4 separate regions of the Homo sapiens genome follow, and all the other regions are linked to region 1. The links are contacts of gene promoters, found by promoter capture Hi-C in human tissues and cell types (Jung and others, 2019). All regions are on one chromosome and are shown on one strand. The core of a region is centred on a gene start or on the middle of the fragment in contact, and the rest is flanking DNA. Distances in the headings are between cores, read along the strand shown.

What was found. Contacts are between HindIII fragments. The study calls those that stand out against the background at their distance.
Region 2: a contact is called between a fragment that was not itself captured here and the fragment with the promoter of NDN in region 1, in 2 of the 25 tissues and cell types used here (heart left ventricle and mesendoderm cells).
Region 3: a fragment that was not itself captured here is called in contact with the fragment with the promoter of NDN in region 1 in 1 of the 25 tissues and cell types used here (mesenchymal stem cells).
Region 4: a fragment that was not itself captured here is called in contact with the fragment with the promoter of NDN in region 1 in 1 of the 25 tissues and cell types used here (dorsolateral prefrontal cortex).

The regions. Positions count from the first base shown.
Region 1 is chr15:23,685,911-23,688,846 of GRCh38, reverse strand. It overlaps NDN (necdin, MAGE family member), which reads left to right and starts at 1,542. Exons shown (of 1, transcript NM_002487.3): 1 at 1,542-2,936. The coding sequence starts at 1,630. The coding sequence ends at 2,595. The HindIII fragment of the contact is 8,447 bases long and covers 1-2,936 here.
Region 2 is chr15:25,159,747-25,162,497 of GRCh38, reverse strand. The region is part of intron 61 of SNHG14 (small nucleolar RNA host gene 14); the gene reads right to left. Among named protein-coding and RNA genes, the nearest start is that of SNORD115-1, 9.6 kb to the left of the region's middle. The HindIII fragment of the contact is 4,579 bases long and covers 1-2,751 here.
Region 3 is chr15:24,745,829-24,748,759 of GRCh38, reverse strand. No RefSeq gene overlaps it. Among named protein-coding and RNA genes, the nearest start is that of NPAP1, 72 kb to the right of the region's middle. The HindIII fragment of the contact is 8,881 bases long and covers 1-2,931 here.
Region 4 is chr15:25,433,651-25,436,350 of GRCh38, reverse strand. The region is part of intron 1 of UBE3A (ubiquitin protein ligase E3A); the gene reads left to right. Among named protein-coding and RNA genes, the nearest start is that of UBE3A, 4.0 kb to the left of the region's middle. The HindIII fragment of the contact is 3,349 bases long and covers 1-2,700 here.

The DNA.
Region 1 (2,936 bases), core at 293-2,792:
TTTCTGTAAGATGTTCCCAAGAAAATGGTAGATATCTATAAATAGAAGAAGGAGAAAAAGGAGAAGTAGATGGAGAGGAGAAGGAGGAGGTGGAGGAGGGTGAGGAGGAGGAGAAAAGTGTTGAAATAATTCCAACTAAGACTGATATCTAGGAATTACCCTGGTGAAGTGGGAAGCTTAAGAGTCCTGTTGGAGGGACTGGTGTGGTAATGGCTCTGCCAAAAGTGTTATGTGCGTGCAAACCCAAAGAGAGAAAGCACAGAAAACCTTTCAACATCAACCTGCTTGAGGAAAAATAAAGTGGGAAAAGATACATACTCACAGTGAGGACTCTAGACATGTCAAGACAATTTTTAAATATGCTTTTGGCTTCGAGTGGCAATAACTAGATTCAAGACAGCATATTTAAGAAGCTGCTGATGAGAAGAAACCCGGGAAGAGCTGAAGGACCACATCAGCCCAGACCAAGGATGCTGAAGCAGCATTAAGGTCCCTGGTTTCAGATGCTCAGGCAATGACCCTTTTTTTCATGGAGAGCCTGTAGGAGTGACAGTTTTGTCTTTGCCCACTGGGAATCTGTTTTCCATACCTGGAAAACAGGGTTACCTATGTTTCCCCTGCTACCCTTTGGTCATCTCAGAGACACTACCAGATATTACCCATGGGACCTATTTTTTTTTTAAATCTCAGGAAAGACTTGGGTGTGGCTTCCAACGTGGAGGACTCAGTAGCTTCAGAGAGGGTCCTGAGAGAAGGTGAATTGAAGAATGAGGGTGCTGGGCAGAGGGAAAAGACATTATCATACAAGTTTGTGCTAAAAGATATAGCAATCCTTCTGCTATGGACTAAGTATGGAAAAAAATAAAATGGAATCAAAGTTACCCAAAGGAAGTGTAAAACCCAAATTTATGCCCGTTAAAGCATTAATGATGCTCTAAGTCCACTGCCTACTTAAAAAGTTCATAGTTCACATGGGTTGATAGGAAATTACGTTAACGACACACTGCATTTCCCCTTTTCTTATAGCCTATCTGATTTGGTAGGGAGTCGATCATTTTTTATTGGAATTTCTCAGGATTCCAACCTCAGACATCCACTTTACAGTTTACACATTTTCTTGGACAAGCCCGACTGTTCCTCTCACTGGTTCGCATAAAGCTCATGTTTACAAAGCCGCCCAGACCTTTCTCTGGGACTCTCATATTTAACTTAATTCTGGATATACCCAGGTAAGCGTTTCCCAAGAAACTTGACCCCAACATCCCAAAAACTTAAGGTATCTTTCCCTTAAACTGGCCCCTTCTCCAGTACGCATCCATCTCACTTCTCTCCTGCCCTAGATCTTCTCAGCCCAAACAGGAAACCCCGGGATCGCTCTCCCAGCAGGTGAAGCCTCGCCATGGACCCTCCCCGTCGGGGCCCCGCGCTGCCCCGCCCGCCCCCAGCCGCTGGCCAAGGCCGCGGTCGCGCAGGCGCAGTGCCGCGTCCCGCCGCCGCCCCGCCCTGCCCGTCGCTGCGGAAGGCGCCGCGCGCAGCAACGCGCACTTCCTCTCCAGGAATCCGCGGAGGGAGCGCAGGCTCGAAGAGCTCCTGGACGCAGAGGCCCTGCCCTTGCCAGACGGCGCAGACATGTCAGAACAAAGTAAGGATCTGAGCGACCCTAACTTTGCAGCCGAGGCCCCCAACTCCGAGGTGCACAGCAGCCCTGGGGTTTCGGAGGGGGTTCCTCCGTCCGCGACCCTGGCAGAGCCGCAGAGCCCTCCTCTAGGCCCGACGGCCGCTCCGCAGGCCGCGCCGCCTCCCCAGGCCCCGAACGACGAGGGCGACCCGAAGGCCCTGCAGCAGGCTGCGGAGGAGGGCCGCGCCCACCAGGCCCCGAGCGCGGCCCAGCCGGGCCCGGCACCGCCAGCCCCGGCGCAGCTGGTGCAGAAGGCGCACGAGCTCATGTGGTACGTGCTGGTCAAGGACCAGAAGAAGATGATCATCTGGTTTCCAGACATGGTGAAAGATGTCATCGGCAGCTACAAGAAGTGGTGCAGGAGCATCCTCCGGCGCACCAGCCTCATCCTCGCCCGGGTGTTCGGGCTGCACCTGAGGCTAACCAGCCTGCACACCATGGAGTTTGCGCTGGTCAAAGCGCTGGAGCCCGAGGAGCTGGACAGGGTGGCGCTGAGCAACCGCATGCCCATGACAGGCCTCCTGCTCATGATCCTGAGCCTCATCTACGTGAAGGGCCGCGGCGCCAGAGAGAGCGCCGTCTGGAACGTGCTGCGCATCCTGGGGCTGCGGCCCTGGAAGAAGCACTCCACCTTCGGGGACGTGCGGAAGCTCATCACTGAGGAGTTCGTCCAAATGAATTACCTGAAGTACCAGCGCGTCCCATACGTGGAGCCGCCCGAATACGAGTTCTTTTGGGGCTCCCGGGCCAGCCGCGAAATCACCAAGATGCAAATCATGGAGTTCCTGGCCAGGGTCTTTAAGAAAGACCCCCAGGCCTGGCCCTCCCGATACAGAGAAGCTCTGGAGGAGGCCAGAGCTCTGCGGGAGGCTAATCCCACTGCCCACTACCCTCGCAGCAGTGTCTCTGAGGACTAGCAAAGTCTGGAGGCAGATGAATGGTTTCTGACCCTCACCAGGGCTGTGGAAGGGTGGGGGTGGGTCATTATAGTATTCAGGATTTACAGTGCAGTATTCACGTGTAACTTTTAAGTTTTCAGTACAGTGCTTTTATACCTTTAATGCAATGTTGTATTCATTTGGGTACTATTGTGTAGTATTTAGGATGTATGCATGTTTGTTTATATGTAAGCTTGGTTGGTGCTTTCGCTTTTGTGCTACCTTTCTTGGATTTTTGTACCAGAGATGTGCTAAACTGATGAAATACATTGAGAAAGTTTCCATCTTATTCTTTTATATGGGACTGATGATGTGTGTTG
Region 2 (2,751 bases), core at 145-2,644, 1.5 Mb before region 1:
ATTCATGAATATTCAGTCAACATTGGGAATAGGAATATTACAAAAATTAGACCATGCTCCAGTGTCTTCCTCAATCACTCTGAGACAGTCAAGTTCAACTTATTCTGTCAAGATCTGGCCACAGAATAGCTGTCAAAAGGTTACACCTTCCTAGAATAGCATTAGGATCACACAATAAGACTTGTTCTTAGCTCGTTTGACAGCATACTGACAAGTGTTGTGTCTTATGAACTTGTAAAATAGCAGTAACAACATGAAGTACCTGTAAGTAAGTTAAATTTCTCAGAGTCAAGGACTGAATGAGCCTTTTTAATCAGGGGAGTGGTTGCCACTGTACCTTATAAATATCATCGCATTTCCAGAGAGACAAAATACAAGAACCTGGGAAAGTAAGCAATGTGCCTATAATCAAGGCCTAATTTTGGAGTAACCCTTAATCTCAAGACAGAAAAGGTAGAACTCCTTTTTTAACAAGGTTAAAAAAGTAATACAAGTGAAGAAATAGCAGCTATTTTAAGGGCATAAAAGACTTCTTCAGCCTTATTTTGACTTTAATAAAGAGTTCTAGTGATGTTTCATGTAACATCTCAGTGAGAGGCTTAGCCTTTTCATAAAACGCAAAGATCTACAATTAATCCTCAAAATCGGTGAAGTTTTTTTTTGGCATGTTGTTTCATTTGTATATTAGGCTGACTTCAAGATGCAACCACCTTCCATCTGCCAATAACACAGATCCCAAATATTTTACTTCAGTTGGTAATATTGCAACTTAGCTAGCGAGGTTTTACGTCCTGGGAGTCTAAGAAATTTAGTAAAGCTAAAATGTCTTCTTTACTAGCATGTAAGTTATTAGCAGCTATCAATAACAATTAGTATGGAATCCTAATGTGAGGAATATTCTTTATATTTTCTTATAAATGCCCAGAGAATGGAGTAGGTGACTCTCTGAATTCCAGGAAGATCCGTTGCCACAAATATTGAAAGCCTCCCGCTCCACAGGTAAACTCAAACAGGAACCTCGACTCCCCAGCTAAACATGGAGAACAAAACATTGAACATAAATCCATGACAGAAAAATACTTAGATAACTCAGGAACAGATATTAAAACAGTGGCAAGGCTGGGAATTACAAGTGTCAGAGGAATCACAACTTGTTTCTCTAAGATCATGCATAAATCTATAAACAGTTTGACCTTCCCTGTCAAGTTTTCCTAACTTTCCCACAGGCAATATGGAAGCATTATGAAGTGAATGTGCCATTTTTTTTTAACTATGCCACGTTTTTTAAAATTTTTCTAATTACATCATATTTGAGGTAAAAATAGAGAAAATGTTCTATACATGGCCAAGGTTTTTCTCTGTTGTAAGTTACAACAATGGTATTGATCTCTTTTGTTAAATCTTTATCATTTGTTCCTAGGACTCATAGATATGGGTTTATTTTCTGTAACTTGGGAGTGCTTCTCCAGCATTGAGTGAGACTCCTACTCTCCCACAGCCATCTTTTGTTTCAGAAAGCACATATTTAGCAATGTAGATACCTTGCATCCCAGAAGCTCCAAAAGCACTCTCTTCAGAGTACAGAAGATCATAGCCCTTGGTTTACACAGCAGGCCCTTTCTTAAAAGATTATTGGGCATATTAGGAGACAAGGCATATTCTTCCTATTTTATGCAAATAGGACCTCGCCTATTTGCATGAAAACCTCAGAGGAGAAAGAAGAGGTAGCAGATAGTCCAGAAATACTTATATCTGGATATTTTCCTAGTTTAGGATAAAACAGAAAAGGCCTGTAGAAATTGCAGAATACGTTGCTCCAGTATCCAGAAGAAAGGGTAAAAAAGGATTAAAAGATAGGAAACAGAAACAGACACATAAATTTATCCTTTCCCAGCTCTGTTTCCTCATTATATCAGTTTTGCCCATGCTTTGCTCCATTTGCCAATGATTTTCTGTCTGATTTTACAGAGTAGGGAAGACCTCCTCAAGGAGGTTGTAAAGCTTGTCAGGTTTTATCCCTTGCATCTTTCTCAATCTCATCCAAGATTCCTTTTTCTAATGTGTTGACTTTTTACATGAGTGACGTATTAATTTCCCGTTAGCTTGTGCCCTCTTATTTATTGGTGGCCCAAATAAGTATTTGCTCACTTTGTGAATAATTGTAACTGGGCAGCTAACACTGCAGTCTTAAGGGTTTTTTCTTCTCTTTCTCCATATTTTCTCAAAGTTGGGTTACTGCCACTAATATTTGAGAAACTATCTGTTCTTGCTAGCTACCCACTTTTTCTCTTAGTTGTATTTGAATTCCTGGCAACAAAAGTGCCAGAAAAATGGAAAGGACCAAGGATCTATTCTGATCTGTCTGTGAATTTATACCTGTTAATTTAGAAAATGTTTCAGTGAGCTATGGTAAAAATCAATGGAGAAGTCACCCAGCTTGTGAGTACAGCATTTAGCTTCTCCCAGTTCACATTCTGTAGAAAGTTTTCAAGGACTGCTATAAGCAGTCCTTCATGTCGGATTCCCAAGGCATTGAATAGCCTATCTGTCAGGGGAGGTGGAGAATTGGACTCCAAGTCCTCAGCCCTCCTTCATGAGGGGGCTCTCACGTGGTGTTTATTGTGTCTATCAAAGTCAACTGGAGGCAACACTCCATGCAACATCCAGTGGGCATCCCCAGTGTGCAGGGCCAAAGATTGAAAACACACTTCAGAGTGCCTTGGGATATATTTGTGGATATCCTCAGAGCAC
Region 3 (2,931 bases), core at 140-2,639, 1.1 Mb before region 1:
GCTTCTCTGGGGACTCCTACTTGTCCCTGGCTCCTGCCAGCTCTGTGGAGCGCAGCACCACCCCAGACCCAGCTCTGCCTCCTCCTGTGCCCTCCCCACAGTGGCCAGCATGACAACAGCAGCTGCTCCGGATGGCCCACTGCTGCCATCACTAATACTATGAAACCTGTGATTGACAATATATGTATCTGCTTTTGTGGCCTTAGGTCAAATAATACAGTCTAAGTTATCACACAAAATAGAAGTGATAGAAGCAGGAAGAATAAATTGAACTTCAACAGAATTTAAAACTTTCGTTATTCAAACTACACTATCAAGACCACCCAAATAATAGTGATAGCCACAGGAGGCAGACAAATTCCTAGGCAGACGGGGATGGGTTCTCTGGTGAAAATTGACCTTCAAGCCAAGGACAGTCTGAAGCCTGAAAACCAAACTACCAGTTCTGGAGAGAGTCCATGGACCAGAGTGAGAACTTCTATTCATGCTTGCCCACTCTTTACTGATTGGTTTTTTGGAATAATGCTTTTTAACCAATCAAATGTTGCCTTTCCCAAGACTACCTACAGCCTGCACCTCCTCATTCCAAACCCATAAAAACTCCCGGACTCAGCCTCACAGTCGGCTACCCACTTTGGGTCCTGTCTCGTTGTTGAGAGCTTTTCTGTTGTTCAATAAAATTATTCTCTGCCTTGTTCACTCTCCAGTGTCCACGTTACTCATTCCTCCTGGTCGTGGGACAAGAACCTGGAACTCACTGAATGGTGGGATTAAAATGAGCTGTAACACTTCCTTCTGCTCACCGAGAGAAACAGCCACTGAGTGCCACTCCCTTCTGCTCACCAAGCTGGAAATAACGGGAATCAAAGGGCTGGTAACATGCTCCTGCTGGTTGGACTATAGGAGAAAGAGAGCTGTAATATGCCGCAGCTCACTGAGCTATGAGCTACAGGAGTGAAGAGCTGCAACATTCCTGTGGGGCTCAGACCTCAGGGCTCCCCAAGCAAGAGCTGTAACACCCCTTGGGGCTTTGCAACTGCTGTCACCTCCGTTTTCAGGTGCCACCACATTCCCCTTGTCTGGATGCTGGCCCCCAACCGGAATTCACTTATGGCACTCCCAGTCCAGCTGCAGGCTGAGTGGGGAGCCACAGGGGCCGTGGGATCTGGGCTGGGGCGAGAGCAGAGCACAGCGTGCCGGGCTGAGTGGGCAGAGCGAACCCAGTGGGTCTGAATGAGACCCGGGCAGAGGTGGCGATGGCTGCAGAGATTCCCGGCTGGCAAAGCAGCACTGAAGGAATCCTGTAACAATAGGAGAAAATATTTACAAATCATGTAGCTGATAGGGTCTATTGTACATAATCTGTAAAATATTCTTATAAGTCAAAGATATAAAGAAAAACATTCTAGTTAAAAGTGGACAAATTCTATGAATAGACATTTTTCCATAGAAGCTATACAAATGTACAATGCAAAGATGCTCAACAATATTAGTCCTCGATGAAATGCAAATCTAAACCGTCATGATACCCATTTCACAAATCCTAATGGCATATTCATAAGAAAACGAAGGCAGTTTGTAAAACAGCATACAAAACAAGTGCCCATCTATTAATTTGGAGTAAAATTACCCATAAAGTGTGTCTGCTCTTTGTTGCTTCCTCACATTTCAGGAATCTTGAACAAATGACTGCCCCTTCCCCAGGATAGTTTTTGGACTGTTAGCTTGGCCATCTCATCACTTGCATAGCCAGCATGCACTATTGTGTCTCATAGCCTTACCCTTTAGGAATGCTTGCTTCACAGGAGAATGTAGTCTTCAACGTAATCAACCTAGGGTTCAACCTAGACTTCTACACTTCAGGTCTTAAAGAAAGCCGACTCTATTTGTTGACCCTTGAATTAATTTCTGTCCTTTTCTGGCTTTTGTGTCTCTTGGTGGTTTCAGGTGAGAAAGTCCTCGCTTAACTCTGGTTAAGTAACCCATGTTCATCAGCCAGAACACTCAGCCATCTATTTACATATAAAGTATATCAGAGGACTGTCAAAGTCTGAGCCTAAAAAACAATGGACATGAATGTACATTTAAGCAATAGAAAATGGAGAAAATTATTGACTGAATCAACAAAAATAAAATTCTAAAAACACAAGCATGAGAACTTTCAAAAATACTTTGTTAGGTGATAAATAAAGGTTTCAATTTTCTTTCCAAGAGAACCTATTACAAAAATATATTCCACCTGGAGATGTATGTACAGTTTTCCTTAGTGGCATTTTTCATTTCATTGAAAGTAATTTTAGTAATCACTTATCAAATTACAAGAAAAGTATACATATCTATCTTATGGTTCACTTGTACAAAAATGCCATGTTTACCTTTGTGAAAGTAAGGTGGAAGGAATTAAAGTCTCCTGCCAAAGTTTATAGCTTTTGGGTCAAGGAAAAAGCAAACAATGTGATGTTCATACATGCACAGTAACATTGTGAGTAACATTGTGGCTGGCCTTTGCTTTAAAAATGAGTCTCAGTGTTTTATCTACACAAACCAATGCCTTTTTAACCTTTCACAATCACAACAGACTAAGTCATACAAACATTCACTGTTTTTATAAGCCTGAGGCTCTTAGCAAATTTTACCTTTTGGCTCTCAGAAAAGTCCAAGTAATTCTCCTTTTCAACCATAGGTATTTTATAGAAAATTTCTGGAAAACACTATAACAGAGAGTATGTAACACCTGTCTTTCCTAATAAAAGTGATATTTTTCATTTTATTAGGAAATTGTGATGCTTGAAAAAATAATTAGTAAGATATTATGAAAAATGACTATGAATACTTTAAATTAGGGAATGTTAGGGAATGAGAGGCATTAAAATATAATATGAAAATACAAATTTTGTTTTAGATGATTTTTATATGACCAAAAAATAAAGA
Region 4 (2,700 bases), core at 164-2,663, 1.7 Mb before region 1:
TGTGTAGGTCTAAATGTAGAAACATTACATTATGTACATATGCAGCTGCTGAAAGAAAATTAGTTTTCTAATTTTTAGATCGGGGTGAAGACAAACTTTTAGAAGTGATCTTTCGGTAAAATACTGGATGAAGTCTTAGGTGCTCTTTTTATGTTGGTTCAGGACAAAAGTTTTTTGACTGCTTTTTGAGTTTTCCCCTCACTGCCAAATGTAAGGATAAAATGTAGTAACAAGACATCTTGGTATGTATAGTGGTAATATCTTTGGAATTAGACCCTAATTTTAATTCTGGCCTTATTAATCTTGGTAAGCCACAGTTTTGTCATCTGTAAAATGGGTTGGTGAAACTTCCCCAGAGTTGTGAGGCTTAAAGTATGTAAAACGCCTAACACGTAGGCACTCAATAAGTATTACCTTAGAAATCTTCCTATCCAGTTTTTCTGAATGGTCTGGAAGCACCTTGTATGTAGTGGACTACAGCATGTTATCCTTTATGTTGTTTATTTCTTTTCTCATTAGCTATGAACTTTTTAAGGCCAGGAATTCCTAGTGTTTACCAGAGAATGTGTTACTAGATGTCTTAGTCTGTTCTGGCTGCTATTACAAAACACCACAGACAGCATGGCTTATAAACAACAGAAGTTTATTTCTCACGGTTCTGGGGGCTGAGAAGTCCAAGATCAAGGTACCAACAAATTTGACATCTTAGTGAGGGCCCTCTTCCCTTGTTCATAGATAGCTAGCTGTCTTTTCACCATTACCTCATGTAGTAGAAGAGTAGACGGGGCTCTATAGGGCCTCTTTTATAGAGGCATTAATTCCATTAATGATGGCAAAGCTTCCCAAAGGCCCCACCTCTTAATACTATCACCTTGGAGGTTAGGCTTTCAACATGAATTTTGGGGGACACATTCAGACCACAGCACTAGAGCAGGCATGAATTGGTTATTGGTAAATCAGTAAATGATCAACTAACATTTATTAGGTTCCTCCTGTGGCTTCTATGAGCTGAGCTAAGTACAGGACCCACAAAGACAAGAAAGATGTCTGTCTTTTTTGAATGCTTATAGTTGAGTGACTTTCTCACATTTGTGTGTGTGTGTGTGTGTGTGTGTGTGTAAAACCCTATCACATAATGGAACTTCATTTTCCCATGCCCTTCCAATCTAAGAGCAGTTCTATGGACTCAATACCTCCTACCCACCAGCTGCTACTGTAAAGATTTACTTTTTTACTCCTTTTAAAAAGTTCAACCCTCTGGCACATGCATTACTTCATTCCTTGGTCCCAGCCCACCACCCCAGTATCTGGCACGTAGTGTATTAGTATTTGTGTGTGTGTGTGTGTGTGTGTGTGTGTGTGTGTGTGTGTGTGTGTGTGTATGTATATAGAATTTAAAATTTTTACTCCGGCAGTTGTCTTCAAATACTCTAATTTTGGGGGGCATGATTATCATTCTGTCTTCTGGCAGTACATGGATAGATGCTACCTGAGTAGGATTGTCTATGAGGTCAGCTGCTCCAGTCATTTTATACAAGAGGAAATTGGAGTGCAAAGCTTTAAAATGATTTTCTTAAAGTCACCCAGGTGTCAGAACCAGAACCAGAGTCCATGTCTCTAGTTCAGGACTCTGCACACATTGGCACATGTTCTGTCCTACCTTTTGGGATGAATAGTTATACTTGCTTTGTGATTACTCACCCACCTTTTTGGAGACATATGAGTGTTTTGTACACTATTAATAGAAGGCAGCCTTCACAAAATGCCATCTGCAGATCTGTTATTTCTTCTAATAAAGGAAATGATGTAAAATTACCTTAAATAGAAATAGTGTTAATTCTTCTGGAGACATATTCCATAATCCAAACACGAAATGTTTGAAATACTTGAAGATGCCATATAAATAAGTCCTTTGTAAAAAGATAATATTAAAAATTTTTGTTTTATAGAGATGGGGGTCTCACTGTGTTGCCCAGGCTGGTCTTGAACTCCTCAGCTTTTACTTTAGCTTCCCAGTGTGTTGGGATTACAGGCATGAGCCACAATACCTGGCCAAGTCCTTTTTTTTAATCAAATGACTTATTAATACACAGTTTCTTTGCCAGCTTTTGTTTTCATTTGCTATCAAAAATGTTGCTTAGTAGTGCTTTGATCTGAGTTATCAATAACAGGTAAATGCCATTATGGATAATAATTCAAAAAGAAGCTTATTAATTATTAGGCCTATCTGAGAGTGAAGTAAAGTTAGCATTTTCTTTTTGTTTATTTTACTTATTGTTTATTTGTTTAGAGACAGGGTCTCGCTGTGTTGCCCAAGTTGGAGTGCAGTGGTGCTGTCATAACTCATTGCAGTCTCAGGCTGGAGTGATCCTCCCATCTCACCCTCCTGAGTAGGTGGGATTAGCATATGCCACCATGCCTGGCTAATTTTTTTATTTTTTAATTTTTTTGTGGAGATGGGGTCTTGCCGTGTTCAGGTTGGTTTCAAACTCCTGGTCTCAAGCGGCTTGGCCTCCCAAGGTGCTAGGATTACAGGTGTGAGCTACCATGCCCAGCTGAGCATTTTTAAAAAATACTGGTCTTTGTACATGAGTCGTTACTATTTGATTCTAAGCCTTATGACTGATATCCCTAAAAATTATTTATAAAATTTTAAGTGCATCAGAGTCATTGAAATGGAATGAGCACTGTCTTTTGGTC